Regions from separate parts of the Homo sapiens genome. Here regions 1, 2, 4, 5, 6 and 7 are each linked to region 3. The links are contacts of gene promoters, found by promoter capture Hi-C in human tissues and cell types (Jung and others, 2019). All regions are on one chromosome and are shown on one strand. Each heading gives the region's core, a stretch centred on a gene start or on the middle of the fragment in contact. The rest is flanking DNA. Distances are from core to core; before and after follow the strand shown.

Region 1 (4,006 bases), core at 1,076-3,575, 150 kb before region 3:
AAAACCACAAACTCATAGAAAAAGAAAAGCTGGCCGGGTGCGGTGGCTCACGCCTGTAATCCCAGCACTTTGGGAGGCCGAGGCAGGCGGATCATGAGGTCAGGAGATTGAGACCATCCTGACTAGCACAGTGAAATCCCGTCTCTACTAAAAATACACACACACGAAAAAAATTAGCTGGGCATGGTGGTGGGCACCTGTAGTCCCAGCTACTCGGGAGGCTGAGGCAGAAGAACTGCTTGAACCCGGGAGGCAGAGGTTGCAGTGAGCCAAGATTGTGCCACTGCACTCCAGCCTGGGCGACAGAGCGATACTCCATCTCAAAATAAATAAATAAATAAATAAATAATAAAAAAGAAAAAGAAAAGCCTACCAGTTTGGCACACTTTCATGATTTGCTCACCTGTAGATTATTTTTAAAAGGACGACACCGGGAGGAATGATGAATACAGGACTCTGCCAATCACTGCTGAGTTGATGCAGCACAAATGCCTTGTCTTGATGTAAGTGGTTCAACAACATGCTGGGACTTGGCACTGATGGGGTCAAGGCTTTCTATGAATTAATACGCAGATGTGTAGCCTCCTCTCCCTCCTAACCTCTGTAAGGTGAGTTGCTGGGCTGTGAATGACAACACAGCCAAGTGCAGAGAGAAGGGGAGCTTGGAGGATCCACACATTCAGGGCCCCTCTTGAACCACTAGAAACATTTGAAGCTTCATTTAAAGCACTCCTTATCTATCTCCCAGGTGTTAGGAAGAGTGATGTCCAACCTTGGCAGCTGCTGTGTTCCCAGGAGTAAAACAGAGATTCTCGGCATCATCCTCAAAAGGACCCGTGGAGATCGCTGCACGGAGTCAATCACCTGACAAGTGCACCAAGAATGCCCTGTGCCTGGAACTGGCTGCCGTGGAACCCACAGACGCGCAGCATGGGGGATCTGCCAGGAGGAGCCGTGCGGCTGCCCAGCTCATCCCCACCCTCCAAGAGCCCACAGACGCGCAGCATGGGGGCCCTGCCAGGAGGAGCCGTGGGGCTGCCCAGCTCATCCCCACCCTCCAAGAGCCCACGTGCCTCTGCGCATCAGCCACAGTCTGAGCTGGGCACAGAATCGACTCGTGGCCTCTTCAGTTTCCTCAGTGGCTCTTTCTCGACCCCGCTTCTTAGAGCCAGGGTGGCAACTGAGAGCAATGGCGAAACAGGTGAAAATGGGGAGAAAGGGCAGCCAGCGCTGAGATCCACACCCACTGGGAGCCTCCCCTGCTCTCCAGGTCCTGATAATTCAGATGACAAAGCACTCAGCCAGTCAGCTCTAATCCTGTAGCTGCACTGACTCTCTGTTTGTGACTTTAAAATGAAAGCGATCCTGTGTGTATTGATAACACCAGTGAGCCACTTTCAGATTCTGAATCAAAATTGTCAGCTGTTTCTCATCAGACTGTCGATGGCACCTGCCGGTGATGACACTGGTCAGGGGGCAGCCGCAACCTGGGTGAGAACAAGCTCCTGGGGGATCCTCACGTGCAGCCCGGGATGGGGACCACTACCATATGGGAAAACAAAGCTCGATTAGTGCATATTCGACTTTACTTACATTTTGATTTATTGTATTTATAATTATAGAGACAGTTATCTGCTCCTTGGGAAGTAGATTGAAGGAGAGAGAAGTAGAAAAATAGTTACGCACAATCTCATTACCCAGATATGCCCACTGTTGATATTTTGTCATATTTCCTCCTGTGTTTTTATTACTGGTTTTTTTTAAAGCATAATTGAAATCATACAGTATATATGATTTCGGAAACTTGAAAAAATTTAACAACATAAAAATTTCCTCATGCATTAAACAATTTTGTAAACACAAAATGTAAACACCATTTTAAATAGCTGCATAAAACTGAAATATAGGCATGGACCACACTTTGAATTTTTTCCTCTTAAATTATGATGTTAATAATATTAATATTGGCTCCTTCTTACTGAGCCCTTGCTAATTGTAGACACTGTGTTTAAGCACCATACATAAATTATCTGGTTTTAGCTCTCAAATCAATGCTATGCAGTAGATACTGTTATTTTTCCAACGTTATAAATGAGGAAACCAGGGCTCACTAGGGGCTCCTTTTCCTGATTAAGGTGCCAGGGCAAAGGACCTGCACCGTGATCTATGTGAAAAGCCACTGGATTTTTCTCAGTATGTCTCCTTGGTCAAACGGAAACACTGAGGCCTCTCGCGACTATCCTTGAGAATTGTGAGAATTAAAAACGAGGCCGGGTGCGGTGGCTCAGGCCTGTAATCCCAGCACTTTGGGAGGCCAAGACAGGCAGATCGCTTGAGTCCAGGAGTTCAAGACCAGCCTGGGAAACATGATGAAACCCCATCTCTACTAAAAATAGAAAAAGAAAAATTAGTCGGGAGTGCTGGTGCCCGCCTGTAGTCCTAGCTACTTGGGAGGCTGAGGTGGGAGGATCGCTTGAGCCTAGGAGGTTGAGGCTGCAGTGAGCCAAGATCTAGACAGGGCACTCCAGCCTGGGCGACAGAAGGAGATCCTGTCTCAAAAAAATGGGCTGGAGCTGGGTGCAGTGGCTCAAGCCTGTAATCCCAATACTTTGGGAGGCTGAGGCAGGCGGATCACTTGAGGTCAGGAGTTCAAGACCAGCCTGCGCAACAGAGCAAAACCCCATCTCTACTAAAAATACAAAAGTTAGCTGGGTATGGTGGTGTGTGCCTGTAATCCCAGCTATTAGAGTGGCTGAGGCATAAGAATTGCTTGAATCTGGGAGGCGGTGGTTGCAGTGAGCTGAGATCACGCCACTGCACTCCACATTCCAGCCTGGGTGACAGAGTGAGACTGTCTCAAAAAAAAAAAAAAAAAAAAGGCACCCAGGTGCTTCTTCCCTCTCCATACCCTGTGCGGTAGCCTGGCAGCTGCTCCCAGGTAGGGAGAAGGAGAAGTAGGGAATGGGAGCAGCAGTTGAGGCCAGCTCTGTGCAGGGCTGGGACACAGACGGCTTCAGGGTCATGGCCGGCAGCAGTAGCCCTGTCCTCAGTGGTTTGCACACTTTGCTGTGTAAAAAAAACCTGAACGATGGCATCAAATTCAGCCTTGAAAGGAAGGAAATTTTGCTCCATGCTATGACACGGATGCACTGGAGGACACTGTGTTAAGTGCAGTGAGCCAGTCTCAGAGGGACACGTGCTGCTGAGCCACACAGGTGAGGAACACGGAGGAGTCAGGGCCAAGGAGATGGAAAGTGGAAGGGGCGCCAGGGGCTGGGGGAGGAGGAGTGAGGCCTCTGTGTTTCGTGGGGACAGGGTTTAAGTCTGGGAAGATGGAAAAGTTCTGGAGCTGGAGAGTGGTGATGGCTGCACAGCAGTGTGAACGTGTGTAGTGCCACAGAACTGCACACTTAAAAATGATGAAATGGCCGGGCACGGTGGTTCACACTCGTAATCCCAGCACTTTGGGAGGCTGGGAGAATTGCGTGAGTCCAGGGGTTCAAGACTAGCCTGGGCAAGATTGTGAGACCCCCATCTCTACAGAAAAAAAAATAGTGGGGCATGGTGGTGCACACCTATAGTCCTAGCTACCCGGGCGGCTGATGGGGAAGGGTCACATGAGCCCGGGAGGTCTAGGGTGCAGTTACCTATGTTCACGACGCTGCACTCCAGCCTGGGTGGCAGGAGACCCTGTCTCAAAAAACAAAACAAAACAAAACAAAAACGGTTAAAGGATAAATTTTACGTTATGTGTTTTACCACATTAAAAAAAATAAAAGCAGCAAAGTTACTCCCTATTGACTTGGGCTGTAGACCCTCCTTTGAAGAACTTGAAGCCGGGCCTCATTGCTAACCTGTCACAGCAGGTGGAGACTTAGAGGGCTGCTCAGCCGGACGCAGTGGCTCACGCCTGTAATCTCAGCACTTTGGGAGGCTGAGGCAGGTGGATCACGAGGTCAGGAGATCGAGACCATCCTGGCTAACACGGTGAACCCCCGTCTCTATT
Region 2 (3,848 bases), core at 297-2,796, 190 kb before region 3:
GAGTTCCAATTTCAGGCCAGGCATGGTGGCTCACGCCTGTAATCCCAGCACTTTGGGAGGCCGAGACAGGAGGATCACTTGAGGTCAGATGTTCAAGACCAGCCTGGCCAACATGGTGAAACCCCATTTCTACTAAAAATACAAAAATTAGCCAGGCATGGTGTCGTGCACCTGTAATCCCAGCTATTCGGGAGGCTGAGACAGGAGAATTGCTTGAACCGGGGAGATGGAGGTTGGAGTGAGCCAAAATTGTGCCATTGTACTCCAGCCTGGGCAATAGAGCAAGACTCCATCTCAAAAAAAAAAAAAAAGTGAATTCCAATCTCTCTATATCCTTACAAACACTTATTATTTTTCATATTTCTAAATTATAGCTATTCTAGTGAGTATGAAGTTTGCTTTTTATTTGTAGTTCCCTAATAACTAATGATGTTCAGCATTTTTTCATGTGCTTGTTGACCATTTGTGTGTATGTGTGCGTATGTGTATATATGTCTATTTCAGTCATTTGCCCACTTTAAAATTAAGTTTTGTTGTTGTTGGGTTATAGAAGTTCCTTATATATTCTGGATATTAATCCCTTGTCAGATATTTTGGCCAAATCCAAGGTCATGAAGATTTGCCCCTTTGGTCTTGATCTTTTTTTTTTTTTTTTGAGACAGAGTCTTGCTTTGTTGCCCAGGCTGGAGTGCAGTGGCGCAATCTCGGCTCACTGCAAGTTCCACCTCCTGAGTTCATGCCATTCTCCTGCCTCAGCCTCCCAAGTAGCTGGGACTACAGGTGCCCACCACCACGCCCGGCTAATGTTTTTGTATTTTTAGTAGAGACAGGGTTTCACCATGTTTGCCGGGGTGGTCTCAATCTCCTGACCTCAAGTGATCAGCCTGCCTCAGCCTCCCAAAGTGCTGGGATTACAGGCGTGAGCCACCGTGCCCGGCCTGGTCTTGCTCTTATATTTAGATCACTGACTTATTTTGAGTTAATGTTTGCATACCATGTGAAGTGGGTTCCAAATTTATTATTTTGCACGTGAATATCCAGTGATCCCAGCACCATTTGTTGAAGAGACTATTCTTTCTCCATTGAATGGTCTTAGCACCTTTGCTGAAAATCAATTTGTCATAGATATGATTTATTTCTGGGCTCTCAATTCTATTCCATTGGTCTATATGTCTATCCCTCTGCTAGTACCACCGTTTTAACTACTGTGGCTTTGTCATAAGTTTTGATATCGGAACGTGTGAGTCCTCCAGTTTTGTTCTTCTTTTTCAAGATTGTTTTGGTTATTCGCGTTCACTGCAGTGCCACTGAAATTTTGATAAAGATTGAGTTTGAATTTGTAGATTGCTTTTTATCTTGACAATATTAAGTCTTTCAATCCATGAAAATGAGATGTCTTTCCATTTATATCGCTCCTTTAATTTATTTCAGCAATGTTTTACACCTTTCAGTTCACAAGTCTGTCACAGTTACATTCTCCTTGATTAAATTTATCCCTAGGTATTTTATTCTTTCTGATTCTATTGTAAATGAATTTTTTTTTTTTGAGACAGAGTCTCGCTCTGTCACCCAAGTTGGAGTGCAGTGGCTCGATCTCAGCTCACTGCAAGCTCCGCCTCCCAGGTTCACACCATTCTCCTGCCTCAGCCTCCCAAGTAGCTGGGACTACAGGCGCCCACCACCACGCCCAGCTAATTTTTTGTATTTTTAGTAGAGATGGGGCTTCACCGTGTTAGCCAGGATGGTCTTGATCTCCTGACCTCGTGATCCACCTGCCTTGGCCTCCCAAAGTGCTGGGATTACAGGTATGAGCCACTGCACCCAGCCGAAATTTTAATCTTAATTTCCTTTTTGAGTTTTTCATTGTATTGAAACACAACTGATTGTGTTGATCATGTATTCTGCAATTTGGCTGAATTTGTATATTAGATCTGTGCTGTGATTTGAATATGTCACCCCAAAATGCATGTTGGAAACTTAATTCCTATTGTAACAGGATCAAGAGATGAGGCCTGTGATTGTTAATACTAAGTGTCAATTTGATTGGATTGAAGGATGCAAAGTATTGATCCTGGTGTGTCTGTGAGGGTGTTGCCAAAGGAGATTAATATTTGAGTCAGTGGGCTGGGGAAGACAGATCCACCCTCAATCCGGGGGGGTGGGAGGACCATCTAAACAGCTGCTAGCAAATATAAAGCAGGCAGGAAAATGTAAAATAGTTAGACTGGCCTAGCCTCCCAGCCTACGTCTTTCTCCCGTGCTGGATGCTTCCTGCTCTTGAACATTGGACTCCAGGTTCTTCAGTTTTAGGACTTGGATTGGCTCTCCTTGCTCCTCAGCCTGCAGATGGCCTATTGTGGGAACTTGTGATTACGTGAGTTAATACTTAATAAAGTCCCCTTTATATATATCCTATTAATTCTGTTCCTCTAGAGAACCCTGACTAATACAGGGCCTTTGGGAGAGAATTAGGATGAGATAAGGGGCATCATATCATCCATCACATCAGTGTGGGGCCCTGTGATGTCTTCCTAGGAAGAGGAGGAGAGACCTGTGCTGGCGTGCCCTTGCCCCCTTGCCAGGTGGTGCCCTTTGCATGTTACGATACAGTAAGAAGGCTCTCACCAGATGTGGCACCTTGACCAGATGAATGAAATAGAACATTCACGTCTCCTGGGAATTTGGTCATGACAGAATCTGAGAAGGAGCAGGGAGCTGGAGGAAGCCAGGCCTCCTGACAGCGCCCAGCGACCTCAGACACGCCTGATAAGAGTCTGTCCCTTGTATCAGGTAGTGCTAGGGTCATGTTCTATCTTTGCCATATTTCATCTTTGACCTTGAACTTCCCAGATTCCAGAATTGTAAGAAATACATTTCTTTGTAAATTACCTAATTTTGTAGTATCCTATAATAGCAACAGAAAATGAACTAAGATAATCTAGAAGTTTTTTTTAAATTTCTTTAGGATTTTCCATAGAAGATCATGTAATTTGCAATAGAAATAGTTTTACGTCTTCCTTTCCAATTTGTATGTCTTGCCTAAGTGCTTTGACTGGAACTTCCAATACAATGTTTAATATCAGAGGTGAAAGCAGGAATCCCTGTCTTTTTCTTATCTGAGGAGTAAAGCTTTCAGTCTTTCTAGCTATTTATTTTTATTTATTTATTTTTTTTTGAGACGGAGTCTCAGCCTGTCACCCAGGCTGGAGTGAAGTGGTGCGATCTCGGCTCACTGCAATCTCCACCTCTTCGGTTCAAACGATTCTCCTGCCTCAGCCTCCCGAGTAGCTGGGACTACAGGCACGTATCACCACACCCGGCAAATTTTTGTATTTTTAGTAGAGATGGGTTTTCACCATGTTGGCCAGGCTGGTCTCGAACTCCTGACGCTATTTTTAAAAAAACCTTATTCTTCCTTTTCCTAACCATATACAACCTTCATGAGAGCTTTGAAACCAGTTTCACCACCTTTAATCATCTTTGTAACAACTTTTCTACTTAGCAAGAGCATAAGCTTGGATATAAAAATAGCATTGTTTTCCTCTTACTTTAGTTTACAAATATTTATAATATTCATAATTATCTCACCTCTTCTACTTCATATTCTCAGTTCATGTCTGACATAACTAAGTACTGATTGAGGTCATAGTTAAGCGCTCCACCCATCTGAATACTACCTAATTTTTGTCTAACTAAATTCTCTTTTCTCTGATCAGCAACATTTTTCAGAGATAGCTTAGTGAAAGTTTGAGCCATAAATTTAGCTAGTTTCATGTCATGCCTCCCAGATTTTCTTTGACACAAACGGGTAAAACTGCAGTGTTTAGAGCATGCTGGGGTCTTTTATT
Region 3 (4,159 bases), core at 642-3,141:
CCATTCTTCAGGTGTGGCTCCTGAGAGCACCGGCCTGTGAGACCCTGCGGAGAAATCACCGCCAACCGTGTGAGCACTCACCGCAGGGAAACAGCCTTCCACCACCTCCGCCTCCTGCTCTTGACCAAGCCCGCTAGGAGCACTAGGCCTCAGCCTCCTCATCTGTAAGACAGGGGCCAAAATGGTCTTAATTCTCAGAGTGTCATAAGCATGAAATGAGAGCGTGCACAGAAAGCCCTTACTTAGGCTTGGTGTGTAGTGAACGCCCAATAGAAGTGCTTGGTGTGCAGTGAATGCACAATAGAAGAAGTGATATGTGGCCGGGCGCGGTGGCTCACGCCTGTAATCCCAACACTTTGGGAGGCCGAGGTGGGCGGATCACGAGGTCAGGAGATCGAGACTATCCTGGGTAACGCGGTGAAACCCCGTCTCTACTAAAAATACAAAAAATTACCCAGGCGTAGTGGCGGACGCCTGTAGTCCCAGCTACTTGGGAGGTTGAGGCAGGAGAATGGCGTGAACCCGGGAGGCGGAGCTTGCAGTGAGCCGAGATCGCGCCACTGCACTCCAGCCTGGGCGACAGAGCGAGACTCCGTCCCCCCAAAAAAAGAAGTAGCGGTATGTATGATGTTGTTCGTCACAGAAAGCATGGAAAATACAGAAAGACACAGAGAAGAGAGTAAATTCACCCATGGGTCTACTGCCGGGTTAACAGGCACTACCAAGATTTCAGGTGGTGGGGGCGCACGCGCATGCGCACCAACACACGGGCCCTAGAAAAATAAACTCGGGATCCTAAGCGTGTACGCTGCGGTGCCCACACACGCGTCTGCCGTTCTCACCCCGTTTTCTGCTTTAATTTTCTGCTTAAATTGGTCATTTTCTGTGAAATGCACATTCCACTTCTGGGTAGTGTGCACCGCCCATCTCCCCCACGGAGTGCAGGAAGGTGGCAGCGGGGCTGTGTTCCAGGCCAAGGCCACACAGCCCGGGGGGCCGCACGCGGGGGCAGCCTTGGTACACGAGGCCTTTCATTTGTTGGTTTTACAGCTGGAAGAATTCGGATATACTTATTGACCGAGAGAAGAGTCCAAAACTCAGGAGTGGAAAATAACGAAGAATGAAGAAAGGAAACAGGAAGAGGTTGACCTGATTGATGGAAAGGAGCTCCTCTTTCTCCAAAACCAGAAGGAAAAGGAAGATTTAGAGAGCAGAGGAGGGTAAGTTTCCCCCGGATAATATGGGTTCAGTTGCATAATACGGCCAGGATGTTATCTGCAAAGAAGCTGTGGGGAGGAGAAGGCAGAGCAAGGAGCGCAGGGCTGAGACTGTGGGAGATGCAGCCGGAAATGACAAAACAGAAACAAAACGTGACCAAGGCCATTTGGGGTCCAGCTGAAGTTCAGCGGCTTAGATGCGTAGTAAGTCCCATGAGCACTGTTGCACGACTTGCCCACAGCTGTTCACATATGGACTTTGCAGCTCACATTGACTCTGGCCAGGGCGGGAGAGCCGGGGAGCCAGGCAGGTGCGTGGGAAGGGAGAGAAGAAAGGGAAGACGCGGTGCCCATTCCATATTTACCTTAGTAGTCATCCAGACGCACTTCCCTCTCCAATCCCCAAACAAGAAGAGGCAGAAACTGTCTACCAGTTAGACGGGAGGTGTCAGCGCCCCTGGAGGCTGTGGCCATTGCCAGGGAGACCCCACTCTGCACAGCTCACAAACACACCGTGTGTGTGCAGGGTCCTCACCCGCCCTGGGCAGGAAATGGGGGAGTTCTACGTCCACTTTGTCACGCAGACAATGGAGGGGACCGCAGAAGGGGCTTCCCCAAGGACACAGAGCCAGTGGCCGCCTCACTGTGTGCCCCTCAGTGGGCGTTTCCACACTGCCTGGCAACTTTGAGAACAGCCGCTTTCGCTGGGTCTCCAGTGAAACTTGAAACCATTTGCATCTGCAAGTACTTTACTTATTCCATTTCAAAGGCATGCACATTTTTAAAGGGACACTGTTTTTAGCTCCTGCGTCACTGACTCATCCCGCATAATTTGACTTTATGGGACAGGGTCCCCTAAGGAGTGTCCTTGCCTTGACAGTCCTGTCTTGAAAGCTGTGAAGACCAAGTGGTGCCATATATATTGTTTTAAAATTATGGACTACCTAGAAAAGAGGTGAAATAGTAAAAAAAAGCAAAACTTTTAATATTCAATGACAAACACAGACAGAAAATAGGGAAAAATTAAATGTTAATGTGTTGGGATGATTGGATTTTGAATAAATTTTATTTATTGAATTGATATGAAGTTTATGGAACAGGGATAAACAGTTTGTTTCATATGATTATATATTTAGGTATTCGTTGACATACATATATACGTATACATATACACGTATGTATTGCCGTGTGTACATATAGACACATAGCATGTATGTATAAAACATATACATATGTGCCAAATTACAAAACGAGAAGTCGTGTTGCTCATCCTGCTCTATTATAAGAAACCTCAAGCAACAGTAGGTACTGGAAAATGCCAAGTCTGCATGATCCCGGCAAGGGCAGATCCTGCCACTGGAGTTCTGGAATGCATCTCTCCCCACTTGGCAAAGATGCAGGGTGCAGAGGGGGTGTCAGCAGAGGGGCTGGGTGCAGAGGGGTTGCAGACTTACCACAGGAGGACTTTATCAAGAGATGTGGGTTTTCTGGGCATCCAGGACACCCACAATGGGGTGACAGAATTGTCTGTGGAGTGGAGTCCTAGTATTGAACTTGGCAGCTGCTACCGGATGCTCTTCTGGCACCTATGTTTTCAGAAAAACAGGAGCTGGCCAAGAGTATTTGCCAGATTTCTCCCTGGATTGGACTGATTTCTGCACTCAGCCCAGGTTTGTTTTTTTTTTTTTTTGGTGTGTGCCCCCGCGCCCGGCTAATTTTTGTATTTTTAGTAGAGACGGGGTTTCACCTTGTCAGCCAGGCTGGTCTCGAACTCCTGACCTCAGGTGATCCGCCTGCCTTGGTCTCCCAAAGTGCTGGGATTACAGGCGTGAGCCATGGCACCCGGCCTCAAACCAGCCTCAATCTGAAGGACGTGCATACTCTCCACAGGTCCCACAGGTCTTTCTAGGGTCCTTGCCCCTTACGTGCACTTCCTCTCTGAAGAGGTCCTTCCTCCACCATGTTGTCCCAGCCTGAAATTGTCCCTCATTATGGAGACTTGAGTGGTGTCTCCCACTGACTCCTCTCTCAAGGGGTGAGGGTTTGCTTGACCAGACACCAGCAGTGGGGCACACCCCTTCCAGTTCACCCTGATGAGCTCCTTATGCCACCACAGGGTCAAAATCAGGTTTAATAGCAGCAGCATTCGCAGTAGCCACAAAATGGAAACAACTCAAGCACCCCTCCAAGAGGGGGAATGGATAAGTAAAGTGTGCTGTATCCCCACGATGGAATATTATTCACTCATGAGAAGGAGTGAAACACTGGCACATGCCACAACGTGGATGAACCTTAAAAGCCTTATGCTGAGTGGAGGACGTCAGGCACAAAATACCACAGATTGTTATGAGCCCAGTTGTATGAAATGTCCAGAAGAGGCAAATCCATAGAGACAGAAAGCAGATCCGAGGTCGCCAGGGTCTGAAGGAGTCGGGGATGGGGAATGATTGCTAATGGGTCCAAGGGGGCTTTCCTTTCTGCATGAGGACAGTGTTTTGAAACTGGAGGTGATGGTGGCATAACACCGTGACTACACTAAATGCCACTGAGTTGTACACTTTTGATTTTAGGCTATGTGAGTTTTACTTCAGTTAAAAAAATAGATTGAAGGCTCAGAGAGATTTAGGGGTGGGAGGGTAAGGATTTAGGATTCAAAAGAACTTGACTAAGGAGCTGAGAATCTTAAATATATTTCCAGTGTCATTGGGTTACTGGCTGACCTCTGTGTGCTACCTTGGTACCCTACCCCAATCGACGCTTTGTTCTATGAGAAAAAGCATTCTGAGCTTCAAGTAACTGAAGTAACTGATTTATAAACAAACCGTTGGAATATAATCTTTTTCTTTTTAATTGTTGGGGACTATCTGTAATTTAGTCTCTAAAATATAGTTAATCTTTGGCTCTTGCTCTGAATTAATCAATAAAAAAGACATCATAGTGGT
Region 4 (4,057 bases), core at 377-2,876, 130 kb before region 3:
ATGGAAGGAGACCCTTTTTGTTGGGCTCCTTGTGGTAAACGACCTCTTCCTGTCCACATCTTCAGCTGTAGACACGTTCCCTGTACTTTACCACCTCTCATCTGTTCCTGCTTTCTGTACCTTGTTGAAATATCTCACTGGCTGCTGTTTTTCCTCTCATTTTCTTTGTTATTATGAATAATATCTTTAAAACTATTATGCAGAGCTTTAGGTAAAAGAGAAGATAAAATCCATCTGGTCAATCCACTGTGTTAAATAGAACATATATTTCTGAAAGTTCTTTTTCTTTCTTTTTCTGATTTCAGTTTTCTTCCCTTTATATATTGTGTCTTTTTTTTTTTGCCACTCATTCCTCTAACCCATCTACCTCCAAGAGACTGATTTCTAAATCTCTCATGATCTCTTCCCTGTTAGAGATCAGATGAGCAACAGACCTTGTTCTGTCTGATTCCTCCAACGTTCTAAGGGAGGAAGTTCTCTCCAGTGTAGACCAAAAATCGACTTGGTGGTCTGTGGTCAGCTGAATTGTTTTTCCAGAATGTAACAGGAGTTTCATGCCCCATCATAACCAGATGTAGCTGAAAGCTTTGGTGAGTTGACCAGAAAAGGTTTCCTCGAGCTCTTCATCATGTGGGCATCTATATATAGACTCTACTGCGATGTCGCCCTCGATCTTAATCCGCCTTGCACAGTCTAGTGAGTGGCTTCAGGTTTCCTGAGAGATTTTATTCAGCGGATCATGGTGTTTCTCCACACGGATGCAGTGTTCCCTGCCATGATACAATGTGAGAATGTGAGAGATTTTTTGCCCTGCAAGGAAAGAACTGAATTTCTCATTAAGTTGAAGAAATTTTTATGATCATTGAATTATTAAGCTCTGGTCTTTTCAGAAAGCTACCAAGGGAAGGGAAGGAAAAAAATAAATAATAAATGGTGTTTTTTGTGCAAAGTTTACATTTTTTTTTTCCAGGGAACAAGAAGGACGCTGATAAAACTCCAGATGGTTTGCTCATCCACGTCTACTCCACACATTTCTCCTAGATGGCGGCACCTCCTTTCCATCCTGACTTGGAGGGGCTTCATTTCAGACGGTCCGTGATTCACATTTTCTTACAGTACTTTGAGCTCTTGAAAGCCCTGGTAGAGATCATTATCATTTCCTGCTTTAGCCTGGCTCCTGAGCTGTGGTGGCTGCATTTCTTTGGTCCTGTTTTTTTATGAGCCTCACCCTTTGAGTACCAATAAAGGCTGCAGTAAAGGGACTGATCCAGACCCAGATAACTGCATGGCCAGAACAAAGTGCCCCAGCCTAAGCACCATGACAATAAATGGAGCTACATTGAAGCAAAAAGTTCCAGAGAAATGGGAAGAGAGGTGCCACAAGAGAGAGCAGGACTCTTAATCTTTTGCAACTAAAAGTTAACTGTTACTTCCACTACTTCAATTTGGAGCCTATTTGAAGGAGCCGTTGACATATGCTTTTATACAAATTTGTTGATCTGTATTTTCCTATATTTACCTTATGCACTCCTCAGTCATAACACTGCTAGAATGTCCTTTGTGTAATTTAAAAAGCGACAATGGAATTTTTTGAAGTATGCAGGGGGAGAAGTGAAAAGAAGATGTCCACAGAGCAGGATGCTCCTTATCCTGGCCCCCATCTGTCATCAGGGGCACTGGGAACAGTCTCTGTTTTTCCTAGGAGCAGCGATCACTTAAACTAATTTACAAAGTAAGCTGATTTATGCCTCTTAACAGTTACTGAGTGCTTAACATTATAGGAAATACAGTCTAGGTCTAAATTACTTACAAGGGATGTTTCAAAAAGTAGTCCTAAAAATTATTCAATCACCAAGAAATTATCCTTCATATAAATGTGTCAGGAGCAGTATGCATTGACATTTTGAGTAAATATTTCAGTTTTATGTCGAATGTATACTCAGTTGCTTCTGAAAAATAGATTGTAAGCAAGCAGATGGGGAAAATATTTCAAAATGGAATTTAAGAGGATCAATTGTATTTAGAATCAGTTGTATTAGAAATACAGCATAATAAGAGGTATCTTTCTCGGAGCTGTAGGTATTGTTATAACCTGGGATTTGTTTCCTGTACATCTGGATATAGATCATTATGTAAATAAAAGAAATGCCTTTTCAATATTCAAAAGTGTTTTTTTTCTTTTTGAAGCACAGCTAGTTATGTTTTGTTAATAAGGGAACATTAAATCTTTAATTTATTCCAAATTTTACTCACGATACTCAAACTGCTCTCACTCATTTTAGGTTGAGACTTTTCCAAGCCAGGATTGGGCTGATGCAGGGGACCTCCTCCGAGCAAGAGGGTGCATGCCATGGATGACAAAGGCAGGAGCTGCTCAGTCCAAACCCGGGTCCCCCAACCACCGTCTAGTGGACGTGTAACATCGGGCAAGTGATGCAGCTTTCCTCTCGCATTTTCCTATAAAATGGAGCTAAATATAGTCCCTACCTTATAGGGTTCTTATGAGGATTAAGTGAGTTAATGTGGAAAAATCTCTCACGACAGCAATTGGTTATTGGTGTCATATAAGGGGAAACATGGACTTCCTCAGATAATGCCAACGATTGACCCTTTCCTGCTGGGTATGTCCAGACAGTAAAACTCCTCTGTGCTTCAGAAAGTAAAGAACTGGTTCCATAGATGTGGGACATGAGCAGGGGTGGTGCTGTTGGAAATTTTGCTTTTTTGTTTAATGTGAACAATACCATTTGTTCTTGAGTGGTTTTGCCCAGGTATTATAGGCAAGGGGTCTTTGAAAAATGAATTTATGGCCAGAAGTGGCTGTATCTTCTCAAGCAAAGCCCTCGGTGTTTACTGATACCATCAGTAACTGAAGGCTATTCTGGTTAGGGCTGAAATTCTTTTCCTTTTACAGAAGTTGGAGACACCAGATAAAAGACACTAAAAAGTTATAAAGTAGATTTAGTGTTGAGTACGTTCCAGCATTCTCCATTAATTGTGTGGTTTCAAATAGCAAAGGGCTACCTCCTCTTGAAGACAACTCATGAGAGGATCATGGGGAGGAGATGGGTCCTGGAGGACCAGGAGCAGGGAGACACAGCCATTTCTGGGAAGAGCCCGTGGAAAGGGCATCCAGCCAGACTCCAGATCCCTCGTTTTTCCTTTGGCCAACTTCATTGCATCAACTTGTAGTTGATGTACTACTAGCAAATTGTAACAGTGTGTAGACTACTTAATAGGCGATCAAGTGGACCAAGAGGAAAAGTCGGACCTTCCTGGGGCACACATGCAGGTAACATGGAAACTGTAGTCACTTCCTGGTGCCACCTCTTAGCCAGGCGGTGTCCTTAGTGATATTGCTTATGCCTTATTCTCGCCCTGTGTGGTTACGATCCTCCACTGCACAGGTAATGAACATGAGGCACTGAAGGTAACCTGCCCAGTGTCCCACAAGGCTGTGGTGTGAATGTTTACATCACCCAAAGCATTGAAATCCTAACTCCCAAGGTGGTGGTATTTGGAGATGGGGCATTTGGGAGCAGATAAGGTCATGAGGCTGAAGCTCTCATAGATGGAATTAGTGCCTTATAAAAGAGGCCCCAAGAGAGACTGCTTGTCTGTCCCTTCCACTGCGTGAGAACACAGCAATAAGGTACCATCCACGAACCAGAAAATGGGTCTTCAACAGACCCCAAATCTGCCTTGACTGTGGACTTGCCAGCCTCTAGAACTGTGAGAAATACAGTTTTGTTGCTAATGAGCCACCCAGCCTATGGTACTTTGCTATAACAGCCCAAACAGACTGAGACACAGTGAGTGGACCCTGTGACGCCAGAGTCTGTCCCTTGGCCACCACTGTTGAAGGCCAAAAGGGTGAGGGTCGTGATCAACTCAGTGCACCACTGGAGGCCATATGGGTAAACAGCAAACTGTTCTCATGAAAGCAGGATGTTGGCAAACTGACAAACTGCATCTGCAGCCCAGAAGGAATGCTGAGGGCAGTCACAACCCAGGCACAAGTGTTGCTTGGGATTAGACGCATCTGGAGCCTGTTAGC
Region 5 (4,007 bases), core at 1,204-3,703, 130 kb after region 3:
AATCCGCCTTCCTCTGTCACGGAGGACAGAGACCGCTTGTGTTATGAAATGGCCTTTGTTCCGTAAGTCAGACACATGCCTGATTTTAAATCTGAAGACTCTACTAATAAGTGATCCTGATTTTTTTTTTTAAAGACTCATTACAGTTTCTTTGTAAAAGACACGGAATTTGGATTCTGTGTTTTTGGACATTTATGCATCGCAATAGAAAAAGTTGTAGAAAGCCATGCAGGTGCTAGCTAGTTTGTGTGTATATTAGTTGGCTTTAAGTCGGAGAAGTGTACAGTGTTATTTCTCTTCCTGAGACTTACTCCCTCCTATGCCTCTTAAAACACTTTGTGTAGGAGAAAACACACAAGTGGTTTAATTGTATTCTTTGTGACTCCTGTTGGAAGATTCCAGGCCCCCATTCCTTCAGAAAGGCCCCCATTCCTTCATAACTAGTGTTATGGGCCTGGCTTTCCTGCTCTCCTCCTTACTCTAAGCTTCCTTATTTTCATTCTAACATCTACCAGCGGCGTCAGCACCTTCTTCCCGACAGTCCCCGCCACCATTCTTGATAAGACTTCATGTACGGCCTTTGTGCTAGCTGGCATCTGCTTCAGACAGCTGCGTCATACAAGGAAAGATTCGTGTTAGCTAATTATTTTTTGCCAACTTGGATAAATTTGTAAGTGGAAATCTTCATTGCTCTCTGATTAAAGTATGGTTTGCCATGTTTTAAAAAATAATAAAAGAATATATTGATTGTATTTTCTCCAGTGGATGTGTTTTGGTTGGCTGTTAGGATCTGGGGACGAAGGAAGGTGTGTAAGGTGTAGAGTAGCCGTGAAAGCCAACTTGAATTCGATTCACTTCAGCATTTGATTCACAACAGAAAAACCAAACCTGAGCGACGCTTCTTTATGGTTGAGTCAATAGGAAGCAGTTAGTAAATTCCAGGTTTCTGGAACCTGATTATGTTTTATGCCGGATAAACTGCTGTTTAACCGAAAGCTGTCATGGAAGCTAGAGGTATTTGATTAACCTTTAAGTTGTTGATTCTGTACTCACTGATTTAAAAAGTAACACGAATAATTTGTCTAGTCAGAAATTCTATATTTAATTTGGGACTGTTTTTGTTCGGACATCAAAATACAGCTTCCAAGGCTGGGGGCGCAGTGGCTCATGTCTGTAATCCTAGCACTTGGAGATGCCAGGGAGGATCACTTGAGCCCAGGAATTTCAGAACAGCCTGGCAACAGAGTGAGACCCATCTCTACAAAAAGTTTTTAAAAAAGTAGCCAAGCATGGTAGCACACGCCTGTAGAGCCAGCTACTCAGGAGGTTGAGGTGGGAGGAGGGCTTGAACCTGGGAGGTTGAGGCTGCAGTGAGCTGTGATTGCACCAGTGCACTCCAGCCCGGGTGACAGAGCAAGACCTTGTCTCAAAAATAAAATATCGTGTCCAGAGTACTAAGATATTTATGTAATTTTCTGTTAACACAGATAACATACTTTCGCAAGTTGTTTATGTTAGTAGATTATCACTTAAAATGAAAACGTGTACTCAGTCATCCAGAAAAAGTAGAATAAACATCTTGGGGTATAATTTATCAAAATTTTATAATACCATTCAGTTCCATGTTGCTCTAGTCCTGGCATTTTCTTGTCATTCAGATTTTTTTTTCTTTTTTTTTGTAGTTCACATTGTATGTGTCATGATAAGAATCATTCTTGAAGACATTTCTTTAGAAGAAACTTTTCTGGCCATAGGACTGAGCTGGACGATTGGCAGCAGCGTTTATTATTCTGTATGAAAGCCCAGGGCTGCCCTTTGATGAGAATGAGGGCAAGACCCACGCTGTCACTTTCCTACTCCATGGCCTTGGTGTTTGGGGCTTGGGTCTCCCCGACTCGGTGCCTCTGGAGGGGCTTGTGGCTTCCTGATGGGCTGCACCTGCTTCTGAACTGCGTAGCCTCTGAAAGCAATTATGTGTCCCCCGGCTTTTCTGTGCTCCTTGTGTCCCTCTGAAGCACTGAGTCTGTCTGGGTTATTTTTTTGTGTTTCAGGAGGAGAACTTCCAGATCACACCAGCCTGTGGCAGTGGTTTTCAGCATTTCTTTGGCTCCCCTTGCACAGGCAGCTTATGTCTTGTTTTTTCATGGAAAAGCCCCCGTGGATATTATAGCTACAACTTTTCCTCGTGCATTTTCTACATCATATCCAAAAACATCGTCTGACAGCGGTGCTCCGGCCTCTCACTCTCAGTGGAATGGCCTCTCTTCTCCACAGTTTGGAGAACCACTCTGCCTGCTGCCAAGATCCTTTCAGCTTGAATATCTTTCCAGGGGCTGTTTTTCCCCCCAGATGTCTATGTAGTTTTGTCTTAGTCTCTGGCATTTTGATTGTCTTAGAAATTCAAATTGTGATGAAATCTGGACGCCTGATTTCATCAAGTTTCCCCCTTTCAGGACAGGTTAAAAGTGATAGATGGATCTTCTTCTGAGCAACACTGTTGATGACTGTGATGTTCTTGCTGTCAAATCCAGTTTTTTGTTAACTAGTCATGTCTGTTATAAAAGTTACTACAGATTCACAAATATTAAAAGTAAATGCTGAAATCTTGAAATGATTTTGAATGCAGTGGCCCTGAGTTCTGAGACAGCGTCGGGCTCCTGGCACTGGGCATTTTCACCTTGGGAAGAGGGTGACCCTGCGCGCCATATATGGTTGAAATCCTCAGTGTCATTTGGATAGAGGCTGTTTGCTTTTATATCACAAATACCTATTTGTTCCCCATGCCCATACACTTGTATGGGGCTAGTTTCATAGATTTTTCTTTTTAAATAAGAGGGAACATCTAAGAAGAAGAAAGTGAAGGAGGGGTGTGACCATCTCCTAATCACAGCTACTGGGGATGGGAGAACCAGTGACCTGAATATCCTATTTGCTGTCAGCCCTGAGCACCATCTACCATTCGAGGCCATCACCTCAAATATTCCATCTGGCTTTTAATTAAGAGAATGGGCTGCTAATGAAATCTCATACTTCAGGTTGTACGTGGATCACCTTCTGGGTCAGGAGCGTGGATGCTGGGAAGAAGGCAGGGCTTCCTCTTTCACTTGCAGCTTTGCGCACTTCCGGACGGTGAAGCTCGCGGTGTGGGGAGCTGGACGAGGAGCGGGGTCCTGTCCCTGAAACACTTGGCTCCTGCAGGGCGGCTGGCCCACCCTCACGGCCGGCTGCAGTGTGACCAGGGTGGTGACGTCATTTGGGAAGTGCTTTATCTTACCGTCATTTGGAGTTTCATTTCCTCGGCACGTGCTGGTGCGTCTTGTTTTGGAGAGAGACTCCCTCATCTAGAATGCGTGGCCTCCAGCCTGTCCGTGGTCACTGACTCCAGTGACTGTAGCTCTGGGATGTCCACCTCAGCACCCACTCGAGGTTGGTAACTGGGTTAAGAGCTGTGCTCTGTGCTGCCAGAATTCCGTACCTGCCCCTGAGGCTGCCTGTGCTTAACGTTACTGTTCTTATTTGCAGGTCCTTAAGAGATACCTGCTGAATTAACGAATTCATCTTGCGCTTCATGCTTTTTAGCAGTTTCCTGTGCACTGTCTCATTGCATGTGAGTCTTGGATATTAAATGACTCCTACTCACCTCATTCATCCCATAAATGCATATTTGTTGATGGTCTCTCTCCCAGGAGCCAGATGCGCTAGATAGTGGCGATAAAGCTGTGAAACAAGGTTTGCTTTCTTGGTGTCTGGGAGATGCTCGTTTAGGACGGGGTGCAGCCTTGTGAATTGCGGGGGAAACAGCGAGCGCAGAGGCCCTGCGGCAGCAGGAGTGCCTGTGTGGGAAACCCACTCTGCTGGGTTAGGGCCAAAATTCCCTTTCTTGTGTTTAACATTTGTTCCCTTACAACCTAAAAACATGGCATGCAGGCATGCAGGCTTTGTCTGTGACTTTGCTCCATCCGTTTCCAATATTCCTGCCTGGCCTGAGATGACCAAATGCTCACTCA
Region 6 (4,327 bases), core at 1,808-4,307, 160 kb after region 3:
CCGAGCATCTCCAGATGGGACGCCTCCGGTGAGGGGGCTCGGCACCTCCTGGGCCCCTAGCTTTGGTGAACTTCCCTTGCCTACAGGTCTCTGTGTTGAAGCTGTCAGAACAAGTTGAGAACTCTTCTATGTCATAGTTCTTTAAGGCTTCAGACATTTCCCTCTTGCCTTTCCTGGACCCAGCATCCGTGTTCTGCATCCATCCTCTACCTGGTCTCTTGGGCCTACCCATCTATCCTCTGCCTGGTCTCCGGGACCTTCCGTGTCCATCTTCTACCTGGTCTTCGGGGCCTTCCCATCCATCCTCTACCTGGTCTCTTGGGCCTTCCCATCCATCCTCTACCTGGTCCCCAGGACCTTCTGTGTCCATCCTTTACCTGGTCTCTGGGACCTTCTGTGTCCATCTTCTACCTGGTCTTCGGGGCCTTCCCATACATCCTCTACCTGGTCTTTGGGGCCTTCCCATCCATCCTCTACCTGGTCTCTTGGGCCTTCCCATCCATCCTCTACCTGGTCTCTTGGCCCTTCCCATCCATCCTCTACCTGGTCTTCGGGGCCTTCCCATCCATCCTCTACCTGGTCTCTTGGGCCTTCCCATCTTGGGCCTTCCCAGGTCTCCCAGGACAGGAGACCTGGTCCCCAGGACCTTCTGGGTCCATCCTCTCCCTGGTCTCCGGGACCTTGTGTGTCCATCCTCTACCTGATCTCCAGGACCTTCTGCGTCCATCCTCTACCTGGTATCCAGGGCTTTCCCTGTCCATCCTCTACCTGGTCTCCGGGACCTACCCATCCATCCTCTGCCTGGTCTCTGGGACCTTCCCCATCCATTGTCTACCTGGTCTCTGGGGCCTTCACGTCCACTCTCTACCTGGTCTCTGGGGCCTTCTGTGTCCATCCTTCTACCTGTTCTCTGGGGCCTTCCCTGTCCACTCTCTACCTGGTGTCCAGGACCTTCACATCCATCCTCTATTTGGTCTCTGGGACCTTCCGCATTTCCTTTCTCCTTACTTGAATGTTTGTTTTTGACGCCCTTAAAGTGTTGTAGCCAGAAGGAAACCCAGCAGCCTTGGTGTGGTCAGACTATTGGAAAGGTGAACAGAACACTCATGTTTCCTGTTACAGAGACTCGATTTCTGTTACCGCAGCCCAGGAAATCTGTGCAGCCTGGATTTCCTTTTTTGAGTGTTGCTGAATACTGGAGTAACTACACTTTCTTAGGGCTTTTTTCTTCCACTTGTTTCTGTTCAGCTGTTTCTTTTTTGTGGTGTACCTGTAGTTGATTTTTGAGTCATGAGTCTAGAATCTTGTTTCATTCCTTCCTTGGTCAAATTGATCTTTTTGACGTGTCTTATTATACAAGTGTATCTCTGCTTTCTGGTCTTCTCTTCTCACCGCATGTGTTTGTTACGTGTCTGCTAGGTGGGTGTCGTCTGCAGCTGTAAAGATCACAACTTCCCTGTGAGTGGTCATTGATTACCCCTATTGCTGTAGCATCATTTTGTAGTTTGGGGAGGTAGAAATATGCAGAGGAGAATGGTCTCAGAGAATAGGAAGTCATCTCACGTGTACATGCAATAGTTGTGGGTGCTAGAAGTGTGATTCTGTGATTTTGCAGTGGACATGTTCCATTTATACAGAGAATGTTGCTATTGGAGGATGCTTCTAAGACAGGTTTTATTCAGAAGTTAGGAAACGGAAGTCTCAAAGACTTCCCCGCCCCCACATGTGTTCGGGTGATGTTTCTGTAGATATGAAGAGTCTAAAAACTCTACCCAAACAGGAAGGAAAGAACTATTGCTACCTCCTTTAGGGACTCCCTGACCATTTAAGAAGAAAAACCCACTGCATTTTCTGTAATCATTGTACAGTGTGACTACCAAGTCTATAAACATACAGGAATAGAACATAAATGACTTATTGCTACAACAGTAATAAAATAATACATGATCTGTGTTTTCAGACCTTACGGCCAGTCTAGATGATCTGATAGTATGAATCTTAGAATAAAATTTGAAGCTAATAAAATAATTCCAGATAGAATAGATGGTATTTCTTATTGGGACCTAAAAAAGTCATTTATACCAAGGAGGCCTTCATATTGTGGTGATGAAAGCTTTGTGCTTTCTTGCAGTTTGATCTCTCTTTGTAGAATCTTTTTCATCTCCTCTTTCTCTATGGATAGCACAGCACCACATAATGACACGCAACGTAGCAGGGCTGGGTGTCCCTCTCTGAAGTTGGCCAGGCCTTTTTCTTTGACCGTTAAGTCCACTTTCCAAACACAACTTGAATTTCTAGGTGAGAACATTTGAGCTGCGTGCTTACCAGGTGGTCTTCAGTTCAAATGAAGTTTATAACCTTTGTGATTGACTCGGAATGTTGTAGCTTGGGCATAATATTATTGGCCATAAGGGCAAGTGCCCTGTCTTTAAAAAGTAAAGAGAAAGTGATATGGTGAGATGTGTGGGAAACTCATATGTGTGTGTGCACTTGTGAGCGTGTACGCCTGCGTGTGTGTGTGTGCACGCGTGCTCATGCACCCTTACTTCAAGGAAATAAGCACGGATGAGTGGGAGGGCTATCCATGTTTTCTCTGTTGCTCATTTGGATAGGAAATAGCTACAATAATTACTTGAAAAAAGAATAATGACTTAGTTTTTGAAAGTTGTGAATGTTAGACACAGATGACATTGCATGTCGTCATCATTAGTCAGTATTGTGTGTAGGCGTGGTCAGATTCCACCTGTAGAAGCAGTCTAGATTGTACCTGGGAAAATCCAGACAACCGGAGTATTCAGAAATTCATTTCGTAGGAGCTCCACTGGGTGGTGTTTCTAATGCAAATGAATGGGGGAACAAAATAGCTTAAAAAATCTCTTTTCTTTCTTTCCTTTCCTTCCTTTTCTTTACTTCCTTCTTTTCTTTCTCCCCTTCTCTTTCCCTCCCTCCCTTTTCTCCTCTCCTGTCTCCCCTCCTTTCCCCTCCCCTCCGCTCCCCTCCTCTTCCCTCCTCTCTCCTCTTTTCTTCTTCTCTTTGCTTCTTCTCTCTTCTGTTCTTTTTCTTTTTCCTCTTTCTTTTCTTTCTTTCATTCAAGACAGAATCTCACTCTGTCACCTAGGCTGGAGTGCAGTGGTGTGATCTCAACTCAATGCAGCCTTGACCTCCTGAGCTCAAGTGATCCTCCCACCTCAGCCTCCTGAGTAGCTAGAAGCATAGGCATGCATCACTCGCCTGGATAGCTTTTACATTTTTAGTAGAGATGAGGGCTCTCACTCTGTTGCCCAGGCTGGTCTTGAACTCCTGGGCTCAAGTGATCCTCCCGCTTTGGCCTCTCAAAGTGCTGGGATTACAGGCGTGAGCCGCCGCACCTGGCCCCTGTTAACTTGAGTGTTGGTTGAAATGTTTCTTCTTATTCCTTTTGTGTATGTAAGGCAATGGGAATATTGAGTAGTCGGTGGCTAAGTTGTTGAATTTCTCTGATTCATGTTAATGATCTGTCATATAAGAAATTTGACAAGATGTGCCTCACAGTTCATGCATTTCTTATTTCCATAAACATGATCTATAGTGTAAGCATGATTTTATGTTTTTACCTATTGAGCTACTCTGAATTAGGGTAAGAGAAACAATATTGAAGGTTTGTTTTCAACCAGTGTGACTAAGGTGCCTTTTGTCATTCTCTTCATTTGCTGTTCACACTCAGGTGTCAGCCTTTAGATACATAAAAACTCAGCTGCATAAAGCAGCGTTTTAAAAAATTACTGCAACAGGTGTAACTTTTTCTAGTTATTATTTCTGTTTTTTTTGTTTTTCCTACTGAGTTGAGTTACTATTGCGCATAACAGTGACTCTCCCAGCCAGAGAAATTTCTTTGGAGCTGCCAGCACATGGAAATCAAGCCTTTTCTTCAGAGAGAAAAGTTGTGCAGACAAATAAACGCTCTCTGCATCCCTTTCTAATCAAAGTCGTGTGGCTTTTTGGATCAGAAGGAAACACAAAGCCCGGCCTTTGAGTGCAGGGATGTGGCATGATCTTTGGGGAAAAGGTGGGACTTGGGGACTTCCCCCCTTGCCGATGGCCAGCAGGTGCACGCACCTTGGGGGCCTGCTGCCTGGTGGTTGTAGGTGTCCCCTCCCTTCTGGGGGCCGGGGCCTCAGAGCTGCCCAGGCAGGCAGGAGAGAGGGCCAGAGGTGGGGCCACCCTGTGGCCGCACTCACTCTGCGTGGGTCTCCCAGGATCGCGGCCGGGTCACGGTGGGCTCTGGTCCCGCTCACTTCCTATTTTCCATGAGCCTCGTCTCTGTCACGCCGGTGTCACTCTGATTTGC
Region 7 (4,037 bases), core at 1,343-3,842, 170 kb before region 3:
TTCTTTGCATGTTTGTTGAAAACCCTTTCTGCAGAAATCAGTTAGGTTGTCTATCTGCTTTAGTTTAGTGCAATGTTTGGTAGAGTATTAGTTACCAGAAAGCATGTATGTCATTTCCAAAAAGAAGAAAAAACATAGTAGTTCAATTTCCAACATGTACTTTTGATTTTTTATTTAAGTAAAATTCTGTACTGATTTTTCATTTGGCTATTCTGGTTTTAAAGGATGAGCTACAAGTGACATGTTTTTTATACCGATGTGTCACTTATTAAATTCTTTTGTACCATGACTTAAAAAAAAGAAATCAAGTTATCTTTTCCAAATGTATAGATCTTGTGATTTTAAGTAGACTGTTGCCATGTTCATACCGTGACTTCTGCCTTTCAGACAGTTGGAAGCTTCTGGAAGCAGCACGGAGAGTTTACATTGCCCTGGCTTTGAGTTTCGAAGCAAGGGTGCTCCACTCTTGTTGGATTTTTGGAGCTTCTGATGAATGCACATGTTGAATCAGAGTGCTCCAGAGTATTAGAACCAGAAAGTCATTTAGAGAACACATGAAGCTTTATTTCACAGACAGGAAGCTGGGTCAGACACAGTGAGTGAGGATGCGCCTGGGGTGAGCCTGGAGTGGGGATTCCCATGCTATCCTTTATTGTTTATCAAAGACTCAGGTGGGATCTTTAGCTTCCCCAGACTCTGTTTCCCCACAGAATCCAGTTTCAGGATTATCTGTATTACTGGTGACAACTCGTGCAAATACCTGTCTTGGTATGTGCACATAATTATATTAGCATTGAATAAATACACCCCACCCCAAACATTTGACTCAGATCATGAGCTAATTGGGCATAATCCCAGCCCTAAAAGGAAGTGGAGAGGATCAGACCCTGTATATATGTTTATTTTATTTTATTTTATTTTTTGAGACGGAGTCTTGCTCTGTCCCCCAGGCTGGAGTGCAGTGGCGCGATCTCGGCTCACTGCAAGCTCTGCCTCCCAGGTTCACACCATTCTCGTACCTCAGCCTCCCAAGTAGCTGGGACTACAGGCACCTGCCACCACGCCTGGCTAATTTTTTTGTAGAGATGGGGTTACACCGTGTTAGCCAGGATGGTCTCGATCTCCTGATCTTGTGATCCACCTGCCTCCGCCTCCCAAAGTGCTGGGATTACAGTTGTGAGCCACCGCGCCCGGCATTTGTTTTTTATGTTTTTTTTTTTTTTAATGCCTTGCCCAGCTGCCTCCCACCTAAGAAGAGATTTGGGGAGACAAGATTTTTGTCCCGAAACGGCTATTTGGTTATGAGTGGGAGGATTAAGAGTCACATAGCAAATTAAAATTCGCCCTACCTCACCCCCTTGCTTTTTATTAGTGTTACTCCTAAACATTGCGGCTGCAAACATGCCCACACACAGATCTGTCTTGTGCATCTCTGATTATTTGCTCATGTAAATTCCTAGAATGAAATGTCTCAGTTTTAAAATGCAATTATAACTTTACCCTTTTGAAATACAAAATACAATTATTTTCTGACAGTTTCTACCAACTTATGTACCAATTAGCTACTTATTCCATTTCCCTTTTCTCAAAACACAGATTAAAACTGGATATTTTAATTTTTAAAATGTTTCGACAGTATATTTGTTATTTTAAAATAAATTTTTAAATGTTAGAATAGTTTTTTAATTTTTATTTATTTATTTATTTATTTTTATTTTTTTGAGATGGAGTCTCACTCTGTCACCCAGGCTGGAGCACAGTGGCACGATCTCGGCTCCCTGCAAGCTCTGCCTCCCGGGTTCATGCCATTCTCCTGCCTCAGCCTCCCGAGTAGCTGGAACTACAGGCTCCCGCCACCATCACGCCTGGCCGAGCCAAGGAACCAAGATCATGGTGTGGCATAGAAAACACAGCCTGTTGAACAAGATTCTGCAGACCGCCTGCCTCCGTGGATGGGAGGGCCTGACAGGTGTTTATTTCTCCATTTCACATTAACTGGGAAGCGACAGCAGCTCATGGCCACTGCACCCGGCTGCCGTGTGGTTCATCGGACATTTCAGCTGTCTTGAAAATTGATATTGATTACTTCAGAACGTGCCGTCCATGGAGCGATTCATCTTGGCAGTTAGAGTGGGCAGAATGATTAGATCCTCGCTCCACAGCTGCATTCCACACTTCTGCCTGGTCCTAGGCTTGGTTTCAGAGGCCTCATTAACACACGTCATCCAGTGATCTTGGAGAACATTATGCTAAGTGAAATAAGCCAGACACAGAAGGACAAATATGCCTGGTGCTGCTTGCATGATGAATCTAGTCAGGCTCAGGAGCAGAGAGTGGAACAGTGATTGTCAGGGGTGGGATGAGAGAGGGAGCGTGGGGGAGGGGGACGGGACGGGATGAGTCAGGGGGTGCAAAGTTTCAATTATACAAGATGAGTAAGTCCTAGCAATCTATTGTGTAGCGTGGACATATCATTAGCAACACTGTATTGTATACTTAAAATTGGCTGAAAGGATAGATCTTGTGTTTGTATCACAAAATAATAACAATAATTAATTCAGAGGGTGGAAAGAGACTTTTGGAGGTGATGGATATGCTTACGGCATAAATTATGGTGAGGTTTCACAGGTGAGTACTTATCTCCAAACTCATCAAGTTGTAGACATAAAATATGTACAGCTTTTTCTACGTCAATTAGACTTCAATAAAGTGGCTTTAAAAATAAATGGCAGCTTTTACTTAATTTAAGTTTAATTTTCTTCTTTTTCTTTTTCTTTTCTTTTCTTTTTTTTTTTTGAGACAGGGTTTGGTTTTGCCACCCAGGCTGGAGTGCAGTGGTGCGATCTCAGCTCACTGCACTGCAACCTCTACCTCCTGGGCTGAAGCAATCCTCCCACCTCAGCCTCCTAAGTAGCCGTTGCATGCCACCATATCAGGCTACTCTTTGTATTTTTTGTAGAGACAGGGTCTCGCCATGTTGCCCAGGCTGGTCTCGAACTCCTGAGCTCAAGCAATCTGCCTGCCTCGGCCTCCCAAAGTGCTGGGATTACAGGAATGAGCCACCATGCCTAGCCAGCTTTTACTTAATTTTAAATTGTGGGGATCCCACTCAACCAAAAAAGAATAGCATTGATAGCACCTTCAAATGTTCTAGTCGTTTTCCTGTACCATTAGATCTAGATAGCGAGTTCCTCGAGGGTTAGACGCACGCCTTAGTCAGGAGAATCCTCATAGCTGTAGCAAGCACGTGTGCGGCACCCGGGAACAGGCGGCTGCACGCCCTGCTTGCGGCATCCCATGGATCCTTGTAGCAATGCATAGGGGTGACACGATTCTTTGCATTTTCAGGTATAAAAAAGAGAGAGAGAGATGGAGAAAGAGAGAGAGACAGACAGACAGACACAGAAAGAGAGAGAGGGAGCGCGTGCAGGCAATGAAATCCAGCTAGAAAGGGTCAGAGCCAGGGTTTGGTTCTGAGTCTCGCTCCGCAGCCTGCATGCTTAACCACACCTCCTTAATGCTGACTATTAATTGGTGTGAGAGAGATCAGTCATGTCTTACCGTGGCAGCCCCAGTACCTAGAACAATCACTAGCTTAGGGGGCCGTCACGAAGCTTGGTGAATTAATAACCGAATGAATGCATGAGAAGATTGAGGGGATGAAGGTAGAGATGGGCCACAGGGGCTCGATACCCTGGCAGGCTTCACTTTTGGCTCATGTGAGAACTACACTTTAAGCCAGCAGGGGCCTAGGAATTTCTAGAACATTCTTTGGGTTTTTCTTCCTTTCAAGAGCTGAGCCAGAGAGTCACTGCACCAATTGTGTGTGTGTATGTGTGTATGTATGTGTGTGTGTACGTTTGTGTGTGTATGTGTGTACGTGTGTATGTGTGTGTACATATGCGTGTGTACGTGTTTAATTTCCTGCTTATTGCCCTGCAAGGAGGTCCCCTGCTCCTGAGAGGGAGTGGAGATTTTGTGAGATGATACCCATTAAGGCCTTTTATGCTCGCCATTTTGTAACAAACAGCATCTGG

Evidence for each region. The method cuts DNA at HindIII sites, captures the fragments that hold promoters and counts their contacts. A contact is called where the count stands out against the background at its distance.
Region 1: a contact is called between a fragment that was not itself captured here and the fragment with the promoter of LINC00908 in region 3, in 2 of the 25 tissues and cell types used here (IMR-90 fibroblasts and dorsolateral prefrontal cortex).
Region 2: a fragment that was not itself captured here is called in contact with the fragment with the promoter of LINC00908 in region 3 in 2 of the 25 tissues and cell types used here (dorsolateral prefrontal cortex and spleen).
Region 4: a contact is called between a fragment that was not itself captured here and the fragment with the promoter of LINC00908 in region 3, in 1 of the 25 tissues and cell types used here (spleen).
Region 5: a fragment that was not itself captured here is called in contact with the fragment with the promoter of LINC00908 in region 3 in 2 of the 25 tissues and cell types used here (lymphoblastoid cells and spleen).
Region 6: a fragment that was not itself captured here is called in contact with the fragment with the promoter of LINC00908 in region 3 in 2 of the 25 tissues and cell types used here (lymphoblastoid cells and mesenchymal stem cells).
Region 7: a contact is called between a fragment that was not itself captured here and the fragment with the promoter of LINC00908 in region 3, in 6 of the 25 tissues and cell types used here (H1 embryonic stem cells, adrenal gland, heart right ventricle and 3 more).

Annotation. Positions count from the first base shown.
Region 1 is chr18:76,681,405-76,685,410 of GRCh38, reverse strand. It overlaps LOC105372212 (a long non-coding RNA gene), which reads left to right. Exons shown (of 3, transcript XR_935657.4): 3 at 749-1,865. Among named protein-coding and RNA genes, the nearest start is that of LINC01879, 6.6 kb to the left of the region's middle. The HindIII fragment of the contact is 5,868 bases long and covers 1-4,006 here.
Region 2 is chr18:76,715,632-76,719,479 of GRCh38, reverse strand. No RefSeq gene overlaps it. Among named protein-coding and RNA genes, the nearest start is that of LINC01879, 28 kb to the right of the region's middle. The HindIII fragment of the contact is 6,667 bases long and covers 1-3,848 here.
Region 3 is chr18:76,526,387-76,530,545 of GRCh38, reverse strand. LINC00908 (long intergenic non-protein coding RNA 908) reads right to left here and starts at 1,891. Exons shown (of 3, transcript NR_015417.1): 1 at 1,583-1,891; 2 at 82-162. RefSeq lists enhancers at 230-869, 1,293-1,372, 870-1,508, 1,509-2,149. The HindIII fragment of the contact is 15,253 bases long and covers 1-4,159 here.
Region 4 is chr18:76,654,705-76,658,761 of GRCh38, reverse strand. It overlaps LOC107985151 (a long non-coding RNA gene), which reads left to right. Exons shown (of 3, transcript XR_001753506.1): 2 at 971-1,091; 3 at 2,283-2,445. Among named protein-coding and RNA genes, the nearest start is that of LINC01927, 18 kb to the right of the region's middle. RefSeq lists an enhancer at 1-55. The HindIII fragment of the contact is 5,712 bases long and covers 1-4,057 here.
Region 5 is chr18:76,395,037-76,399,043 of GRCh38, reverse strand. The region is part of intron 3 of ZNF516 (zinc finger protein 516); the gene reads left to right. Among named protein-coding and RNA genes, the nearest start is that of ZNF516-AS1, 95 kb to the left of the region's middle. The HindIII fragment of the contact is 6,024 bases long and covers 1-4,007 here.
Region 6 is chr18:76,371,914-76,376,240 of GRCh38, reverse strand. The region is part of intron 4 of ZNF516 (zinc finger protein 516); the gene reads left to right. Among named protein-coding and RNA genes, the nearest start is that of ZNF516-AS1, 120 kb to the left of the region's middle. The HindIII fragment of the contact is 6,110 bases long and covers 3-4,327 here.
Region 7 is chr18:76,698,291-76,702,327 of GRCh38, reverse strand. No RefSeq gene overlaps it. Among named protein-coding and RNA genes, the nearest start is that of LINC01879, 10 kb to the right of the region's middle. The HindIII fragment of the contact is 4,225 bases long and covers 480-4,037 here.